3 separate regions of the Homo sapiens genome follow, and regions 1 and 3 are each linked to region 2. The links are contacts of gene promoters, found by promoter capture Hi-C in blood cells and fetal thymus (Javierre and others, 2016). All regions are on one chromosome and are shown on one strand. Each heading gives the region's core, a stretch centred on a gene start or on the middle of the fragment in contact. The rest is flanking DNA. Distances are from core to core; before and after follow the strand shown.

Evidence for each region. The method cuts DNA at HindIII sites, captures the fragments that hold promoters and counts their contacts. A CHiCAGO score of 5 or more calls a contact.
Region 1: the fragment with the promoter of EXOC1 here is called in contact with the fragment with the promoter of DCUN1D4 in region 2 in 4 of 17 cell types (naive CD4 T cells, non-activated CD4 T cells, total CD4 T cells and 1 more); the score reaches 6.3 in naive CD4 T cells.
Region 3: a contact is called between the fragment with the promoter of CEP135 here and the fragment with the promoter of DCUN1D4 in region 2, in 1 of 17 cell types (total B cells). The highest score is 6.2, in total B cells.

The regions. Positions count from the first base shown.
Region 1 is chr4:55,852,073-55,854,906 of GRCh38, forward strand. EXOC1 (exocyst complex component 1) reads left to right here and starts at 1,576. Exons shown (of 19, transcript NM_001024924.2): 1 at 1,576-1,881. RefSeq lists a silencer at 1,368-1,467. The HindIII fragment of the contact is 2,625 bases long and covers 209-2,833 here.
Region 2 is chr4:51,841,380-51,844,471 of GRCh38, forward strand. It overlaps DCUN1D4 (defective in cullin neddylation 1 domain containing 4), which reads left to right and starts at 1,774. Exons shown (of 11, transcript NM_001040402.3): 1 at 1,774-1,888. The coding sequence starts at 1,864. RefSeq lists silencers at 1,502-1,651, 1,662-1,711, 1,802-2,151, 2,252-2,331, 2,882-3,001. The HindIII fragment of the contact is 3,870 bases long and covers 1-2,912 here.
Region 3 is chr4:55,947,373-55,950,239 of GRCh38, forward strand. CEP135 (centrosomal protein 135) reads left to right here and starts at 1,573. Exons shown (of 26, transcript NM_025009.5): 1 at 1,573-1,687. It overlaps EXOC1-AS1 (EXOC1 antisense RNA 1), which reads right to left and starts at 640. Exons shown (of 5, transcript XR_941069.4): 1 at 468-640. RefSeq lists enhancers at 382-531, 1,150-2,114 and silencers at 1,329-1,468, 1,519-1,978. The HindIII fragment of the contact is 6,740 bases long and covers 1-2,867 here.

The DNA of each region.
Region 1 (2,834 bases), core at 326-2,825, 4.0 Mb after region 2:
GCGAAATACCAGCACCTCTCCTCTCACTTCCTGCCCCAGCATGTCTCTGATGTGGGAGTCAGCTTGGCATTCACAACTGTGCGATTTGTAAGTGTGAAGTAGTTAATGCCCAAGGGCATTAACCTTCGATCAAAGAGGACAGGAGCCGACATACAAATGCTTCCTCCGTTCTTTCCTTTAATGGACAGTTCTGAGACTCATTTCATAAAGCTTCTTAGAAGGTCCTAAGGGACTAAGAAAACATTCAAATATGGTGATGACCAACTCAGTAACACATTCTTATACTGCATCTCCCTTTTTGTTTTGTCTTCTTCCTCTTCCCTCATTTTGCTCCCTGGGATCAAATTTCCAAATAAACTATTGCATATAAGTGTCACTTTGCAGGGAATCCAAGAGGAGAGAGGATAATTTAATTTTTGGACACACAAGTTTGAGGTGTCTATAAGACATCCAAGTGGAAATGTCAGGCGATGGGCAGTATATACACAAATCTTGAGGTTCAAGAAAGAGATCTAGGCTTCTGAAATGCAATTCATTTCCCAACTTTGAGGAGGGCTATAAACATACAGGTAAATAAAAGAAAGATAATAGGACCAAAAAACACATGCAATTGTCATAGAGTGTCCACAGTAAGCATTCCGGTGCCAAGCAGGAAAGGGTCTTTGTAAAGATATAACCAGATCCTGCTCTTAAAAGGGAAGTCATTTGATGAAAGTGAAAAGTATTCTAACTACTGTTTGCTCATTTAAATTTCTAGCACATTTATCTGATCTGTACCTCTCTTTGGTCACTTATTTTGTGTCCTATTTTATATATATTTGTACCTACACCTTGTCTAGTCCTACCACACTGTGAACTCCTTTAGGTTAAGATTCATGCCTGAATCACCTCTGTACCTGGAATCAAAGTGCCTAGCATTAAAAAAAAAAGGTGCCAGGAATATTGAATAAATAAAACACCTACCTGCAACCAGCAACATTGGCATCATTTATGCATCCCAAACTTAAATATGCATAAGCATCATCTTGCTAAGATGCAGATTCTGATTCAGTAGATCTGAAGTGAGCCAGAGAGGCTGCATTTCCTAAAAAGCCCCCAGATGATACCCAAGCAGCTGATCCACGGACCACACTTTGAGTATCAAGGTCATGAGGACAATGGTTCTTGACCTTAGCTGCATATGAGAATCATCTGGGAAGATATTAAAAGTACTGATGTCTGGGTCCCACCCGCAGGGATTCTGATTTAACTCATTTAAGCTCTCCAAAGTTTAAGTAGCAAAGATCTAGAGTTAATAGAGCTTTACGTATGAAAAAAGAAAACATTTAATCGAATTTCTTCTTAAATGAATTGCTGCAAATATCTGAATAAATAACTCTTAATCCCCAACTCCCAAGTCAGTTTCTGTGCCACAAAGGCCCCGCCCCTGCCCTTCCCTGACACGCCCCTCCAATGAGGCCTTGTTCCGCCTGGCCACGCCCGTCGGTTGGCGCCCCGCCCCTCCGCGTCTATTGGCCGCTCCCTTTTTCTCCCATCGCTGCTTCTTCCTTCTCTACGCGGTCAACTTCCGGCGCGGAGTTTGTCACGTGCCCGGATATAGGAAGTGTTGGGGGAACGGCCGCTTCCCGTTCAACGCTTTATTGAGGGGCGTATCCTAGTGGCCCCCATCCGGTCTCCGTTTTGGAAGACCCGCCTCGGCACAGCCAGGCTCAGTCCGGCCTTGCGGTAAGCCTTCGGCCGCGGCTGCCCGGTAGTCCCGGCGGCGGCGGACAGACGAGCTGACAGGCACCAGGGTCTAAGGCGGCTCCTCAGTCCGGCTGCTGTCTCCACGCCTGGGGTCGGGCACCGCTCCTTCTGACCTTCCTTTCCCCGTTTGTCCCGGTAAGACGAAGTTTGGTCAGAGCATTCTCCAGTCCCTTGTCCTCGGGTCTAGGAGAATGCGGAGCTGGGAGGGCAGTCCTCACGGGCCCCATTACGGTTCCGCCCATCGGAACCAGATTTTGTTTGTGCAAAATGACCCTGATCGTAAGCTCTTTGGCGTGGTCCAGGAGAGGAGAGCGTGACTGTGCCTTCCTCTTTGTCCAAATTCACATCCCGGCCCCCCAACCCCAACTCCCCCCCACCCCCCGCCAAATCTCTTAAGTGTATTTCTCTATTTCCTTGCACAGTTATATCTTCTAGATGGCAATGCTTCATGCATTAATATATCTCAGCAGCATACAGGGCCCAATGCACACGGGCACTCACACTGACAGGCTATTTGTCACACAGTGTGGTGGTCCAACTGAGCTGAAGGAAACAACCAGTACAGAGTAAGCAGTGGATGGCTGCCTTTGGAACGTGGTCAGATATGGGTTCTCAGACCTGGAGAATAATTTTAGAGGACCTCTAGGGATTTATTTACTGACTTTCAGAAAAGTACCGTAAAGACTGAAGAGTTAATCACTCGACTCTTAGGATGTAAATGCCATAGAAACACCCGGCTTCAGGTCTTCATAAACATATCTGTCATGTTGACTACTGTAACCTAGAATAGTGTCTGCCACCTAATAAGCATGAGTATTTGCTGAATGAATGAAGAGTCACATACTGCTTTTCATTATGGCTAACTCCTTTATGAGGTATGCCCAATCCTGTCTTGTTTTGCCTCTTACTGTACACTCAGTTGCTTTTAGCCAGAGAAGGAGTATGTGGTAAACGTTGGTCCCTATTATTCATTTGACCAGTTTTTACTATTCAGTTCTAATTACCTTAATAGATATTTAAGTATCCACTAAACACAAAACTATGATGAACATCCCTCCCTTCTTTAAGAGAATTCTTGAGATAGAGAA
Region 2 (3,092 bases), core at 524-3,023:
AGTAAGGGCGGATATTCTTACTGCTAGATCTGCCCAACAAGCAATCCCCTATCTCAGAGTCCAGAGGTACCTACCCATCACTGTGGGGCCCCGCTGAGGTACTGTCATGATAAAGGTGATCAATAAGGATGTTCTATGAGAGATTCTTGTCTTGCGAAAGAACCTGAAGCAAATAATAAATAACTTCAGGTACAGTTCTGAGATTCCATAAAGTGATTCATAAATGTTTGAATGATAAAAATATTATATAAATAGTATTATAAGGATGTAATTTATTAAAGAGAAATTAGCGATTAAGATGGAGGGAGCATTTTACCATGGGAGTGCTGTGGGACACAGAAACTGGTTTGTCTGAGCCCCTTCCAAATAGCATAACATTTGTGTCCTGATTTAAAATCTAAATTTCAGAGCCTGGAAACCCAAAAGCCTGGGCTGTAGAAATCTAAAACCAAAAAGACCGTGCGTTCTGTTACCTGTGATTTGTGGTGTCACCTACTCTTTGAGGCTCCCAGATGGCCCAGGGCCTTAGGATATGGGGATGCCTTGTAGGTGTGTTGTTGTTGGAGTTGGTGGCTGGGATGAGGGTGGAGGCAGGGTAGGGTGGGGGTGGGTTGGGGTGGGGGGAATCCTCCGTTAATATCTCGAAATATTGTTCTGTTACCATAATGCGGTGTGATAAGTTAGCTTCAAGTATTGAAAAATCAGGGCAGGACTCATGGAAATGGTGCGAATTCTTGACTTAGGGTCAGAAGAATTCACCAAAATTAACGTCTCCCTCTGCCAAATAACAGCCAGTTTCAATTTCTGGACGGCCTCTCCGCGGGAGTGACAGGTTTTCTTAGATGCCGCCGGGGGTCTTTCACGGGCTGGTGGTCTGCCCCCTGGACTCGTCCATGTGTTAGGCTCAGTCCGCAGCTCAGAGCGCGGCCCTGTATTTCTGTCTGATGTCTGGGGCATACAGATGTGTGTGACGGACAATGCTCGTGGCATTCGAAGCCTCTTTAACAGACATTAGTGACTAGAGGAAAGAAGTGTGCGAACTCTGCGAAACAAGTATGCGGACTCTGGAAAAGAAGTACATTTCGAAAGTGGGGAGAGGATGGATCTTCGTAGGAGAAATGGAAATTTGCTCCCCACCAGAAGGTTTGCTGGAAATTAAGACGCGGCAATTCTTAATCCAGTTTCCTGCGGTAGGAAGCAGCTGACAAGAGAAGTCCCAGTCCGAGTTCGGCGCGAACTGGACAAGTGTCGTGGGACAAGTGGCGGGAGACCCGGCCGCGTCGCGCCGGGCGCTAGGGACGGACGCATTTCCCTACTTCCAGCAGCTGGTACGAGCCGCCCCCAACTGCGCTGCGCTGCTCTATTCTTTGGGAAACACTTCGCGTGCTTTGTTTCAGACGCCGACCCATCTTTCTTGGTGGGTCTCCAGCTCCACCAATCCCGCCCGCCACTGGGCGGGGTTTCAGGGTCAAGGTGGACCAATTTCCCAGCTTCGCCCCTACACGCGCTCTCGGACCCCTGGGGGTGACTGACAGCAGCCGGGCCCAACCCGCTGCTCCGGAGCATGGCCTCCGCCAGGGGCGTTACGGAGACAAGGCCCCAGGACCAATCGTATTGGCCAGTGGGGGGCGGGGCCTCGTTGCCAGCTCCAGACCGGCGCTATGGGCACTCCTTTTGTCAAATGAGAGACGCAGCAGGGCGGCCCCTGAGCCGCGGTTTAGCCAATGGAGAAGGCGAGATGGGCGGGCTGGGAGTGCCCGGCGGCGGGTCCTCAGCTTCGAGCCGAGGTGCAGTGAGCTGGTGGGGGGACCGCGAGGCGAGCGCGGGAGCCTGGGCGGCGAGCCGGGTGTGAGCTGCCTGAAAATGCACTCGGATGCCGCCGCTGTCAGTGAGTAGCAGAGAGCCAGCCAGCGGGCCGGGGCCGGGCGGCTGCCAAACTCGCCACTCGGCTCCCGCAGTCCCCGCCCCACGCCTCGGGTCCCGAAACGCGCCGGGAGCCCCTGCCTGGGAACCACCCCTTCCCCTCCCGGGGCCGGGGCGGGCGGTGACGCTGCGGGCGGCGTGGGGCGGGGGCGGGCGTGGGGGGAAGGGACCGGCCTGCGGGGAGGGCGGAGGTGAGGGGGGTGGGGACTGGCTCTCTTTCAGTGTTGGGGGAAGGGAGGGCTGGACGTGCGATGAAGGGCCGAGATCGGAGTGTCCGGGGTGCATGGAGGTGGAGGCAGCGTTGGGCTGTAGCGGGCAGGGCCGGGGATGTGGGGGGGTGGCACCGGCGGGGAGAGGGAGGGAGCGAGCGAGCGAGCGGGGCACAAGGGTGAGGATTTCCAAAGGGCTGAGTGGTGCGGGCGGCTCCGTGAGAAAGGCGGGTGAGTGCGAGGGGGGCGCGGGGGCGGGGACAATGGGAAGAAGGGCTGGTTGGCGGGGGGGTGGGGGGGGGGCGGCGAACAATGGGGTGGGGGAATGGGGGCAGCGGCCGAGCGGGGCAGGAGGGCGGGCGACTGGACGAGGGCTGATGTAACGGGAAAGCGAGGTGGTGGGAGGGACTGGGGTGTAATGGTAGTTGGGGAGTCCTGCGGGGCGGGAGGGGCGTTGGAAGGGCGGTGGGTAACGGAGAGTGGTGGGAGTGGAAGATGTTGGGGTAAAGAGATGGGGCAGGTGTGGAAGGGTAGGGCGATTGGGAGGAAGAGGAGAAAAAGGTGGGTAGGATTTGGGGTGGCAGAGTGGGGGCAGGGGTGGAGAATATGAAATGGGGGTGAGGAGCTAGTCGGGGAGGAAGGGGAGGTGGGGCGGAGTTGGGCAGGAGGACTGTCACGTCCAGATTCGGTCCGGAGCCGGGCTAAGGGGGTGTCAGACTGTGCTTAGGGGAGGTACTTCCTCTCCCTGTCGAGGCAGGGTCCCTTGAAGGGGGGAGTCCAAGCTTCGGGGTGCGGAGAGAGGAGGGGGCGGGGCTGAGGTGGAGGAGACGGGGTAAGTGCCCTAAGGTTGGAACTGGCCGTGGTTCCCCCCGGACGGCGGGAAGCGAGGTCAGCGCTGGCGCGGGCTCCGGCAGCGGGACTAGGAGGCGGGGCAGGGGTGCGGGCTGCGGGGTTTCAGCA
Region 3 (2,867 bases), core at 323-2,822, 4.1 Mb after region 2:
TTCCTTAGACCATTAATTATGATTATTTTTGCCTATGTTTAGAAAGATTTGTAGGTTCCTGTTTTTCTTTTGACGCAGCTGCAAGGCCACCAGCTAAGCAAAGCCAAAAGTTATGCAAATTTCAGCAGTTATGCTATAGATTACAAAACCTGTCACTGTGTGATTTACTGCCTTGGTTCTGCTTTTTTAATTTAGCCTATATAAGCCAAGCTCTGTCTTTGTTCAGGGCTCAGCTTTTTGGATGCAAATCCACGGAGCCAGTGCACACCTTAATAAAATCCTCCTGCTCCACCCATTGGTCTTTCTGGTCCTCTGCTTTCCCGCAACAATGGGAGTCTTCAAGCGGCCAGTGCCTTTTTCGTTCTTAACTGCCCAATCCGTGCCAGCAGAAGGCAGCTTTAAACCAAAGTGAAAGAGCTGAAGCAAAAAAGAAAGAAAATAAAAAGTCCCAGTTCTTCTGGGCTTACCTCCTGGCTGGCTCACCAAAATATGTTACCAGATTGGAAGTTGGGAGTTCCAGGTTCTTGGTGTTATGAACAAAGAATTGGATGAGACACACAAATAACCACCCCACAAGATTTATTAAGCAAAGAATATACCAGAGAGAGGAACGGGCTTATCTTCAAGTGGTGTCAGCCCTGGATTAATATAGCCTTTGTTCTTTTATACCCACTTCCTACACTTCTTTAACTCTAGGGAGGGGATTTCCTATAATTGTCATATCTGTTTTCTTGTTTTTTCTCTCTTAGTGCGCCTGCGTGAGCTTGCCATAATTTTAAGTGTATGTATGATAGGCATTCCATAGGTATGAGCTGGTCAGTCTTCTGACTTCCTTCCCTATTCTGCTGCCTCAGAAGGCCTATTTGGGAGAAAAGTAAACAGGAAAGAATGAAACTCCCTCTGACTGTCTGGGAAATTTTCAGGGGAGAAATGGAATTCTAGGATTTTACTATGTGTTTTCCATCTGTGAGTGGACTATAACGGTTTATTTCAATTTAATTCCACTCACAAATGTTTTGCTGAGTAGAATAGTCTCTGACTCAAGGAATTCACATTTGGGGGCGGCAGAGAGAGACGGATCAACAAATGATTGTATTTTGATGGATGAATTCTATGGTTCTACAGAGAGCCTGCGGGAGATACTATTGTGGGATAATTAATTGCATTGGGTGGTTGTCAGGGAAAGTTGCAGAGACAACGTGATATCTGCGTTTGGGGATTACGTGGTGAGCAGGCGTTCACCTTGCAGGTGAAGGCTACTCCGCTGCAGGGACCGGTACTGGGGCGGCGTTTGTTCCCCGCACGCAGTAGGTGATCCACACCTCCCGCCGACAGGAGGAAGAGGATGCCAGCTCAGGCACCAGCTGAGGTTTGGCATTTGCTGGCCGCGGGCGCCGACCTCCAGGGGGCGCCGTGGCCTCGCGCTGTCCGGGCCGTTGCATTTCCGGGCACTGGGGCTCCGCCATCGTCGCCAAGCGCGTCCCCGCCGCGAGCCGCTAATCGTCCGCCGCTCCCGTTACCGGGGCAACCGCGGCGCCTCCTCCGTGTCGGCCCCGATCGTCCCTCCGCGCCATTTTCAAACTGCTCTAGCGCCGGAGCCCGTGCCTGGACGGAAGGAGCTAGTGGGGGACTCGAGGCCTGAGGGCAATGCGGCTGGAGGCGGAGGCAACGGCGGCTGGAGCTGCCGGTGAGTCCGGATGTGGGAGCCAGAGGGCCAGCTGCGGCGGTGGTGGCGCCTTCGCCTTCTGGGCGGTACCCGCGGGCCGGGCTCGGGCACTGCCGGGAGGCCGCGCGGCCGCGGGAGGAAGTGAGGCCAGGCCGGGTCAGACCGGGCGGGGAGGGGCGCGGGGACTCTTCCCACCCACCCCGCTCCCACACCCCCTTCCCGTCAACACCCGACGGTAAAGTTGCAAACCGGAGATTGGGTGGAGGAGAGCTTGGGCCGACTCGTCAAGGAGCGTCTGTGTGGGCCGTGCAGACAGGCTTGCTGTTGACCAATGGATAGATTTAAACATTAAAATGCCTTCTCAGTGTAGCAGTCATCCATGCTCTTTGTAACAAAAATGTCGCAAAGCGTAGGACGACAGCCTTTAATTAACCTTTGCCCAGCTCCTTTGAAGCCTCTCCACTGCTTTCCAGCCTTTACTACTTTGAGTTCAATAAGAAAGGACTCTGAGATAACCACAGCTAACGGGTTTCTTTGTTGTCGTTTGGGGTTTCTTGTTTATCTTCTTAAGCCCTGTGCACACATACATACAGCATTAAATGTACTGGTTTTGAGACGCCAACCCCCAGAGTTAAGTAGATGGATACTTCTACACATATATGTATGGGGGACCCCCAAACCTAACCTTTTATGTTGCTTTGCTAGAAACTTAGAGTATAGCCACCATATTTGGATGGGGGTTATGGGGAAAGACAACAGTTCATGGGTGGGGACGGCCTAACATGTTTCTATCTGGGAGGATTTTAATCCGTCCTGTGTATTGAGGCCCTGGCCATGATTTATTGATTCATATTCATTCTCATTCTCTCCCCTCCAAAGCAGGATGTGAGGAGGTATTATCTCTGGGTAACTGGAGTTGGTAGCAAAGAGGGGAAATGTTTTGAGTGGTGCACCGCCTGTAAGTTTACACCCTGCTAGTAATACACCTGGATTTGTCAGGTGTATTTCTGATGTCTGCAGGAATTTCCCTAAAAACCCTGCATCACTTAGGTGTCTCTTGTGGAAAGAACCTAGGAAATCTATGAGGAAGCCATTCAAAAAAAGTTAACAAGAGCAAAGAGAAAGATATACAGAAAGGAGTGACCAAGGAGAGACTCAGGAGACCTGGTCTCTGATGACTGCCCACCTACTTTGTGGCCCC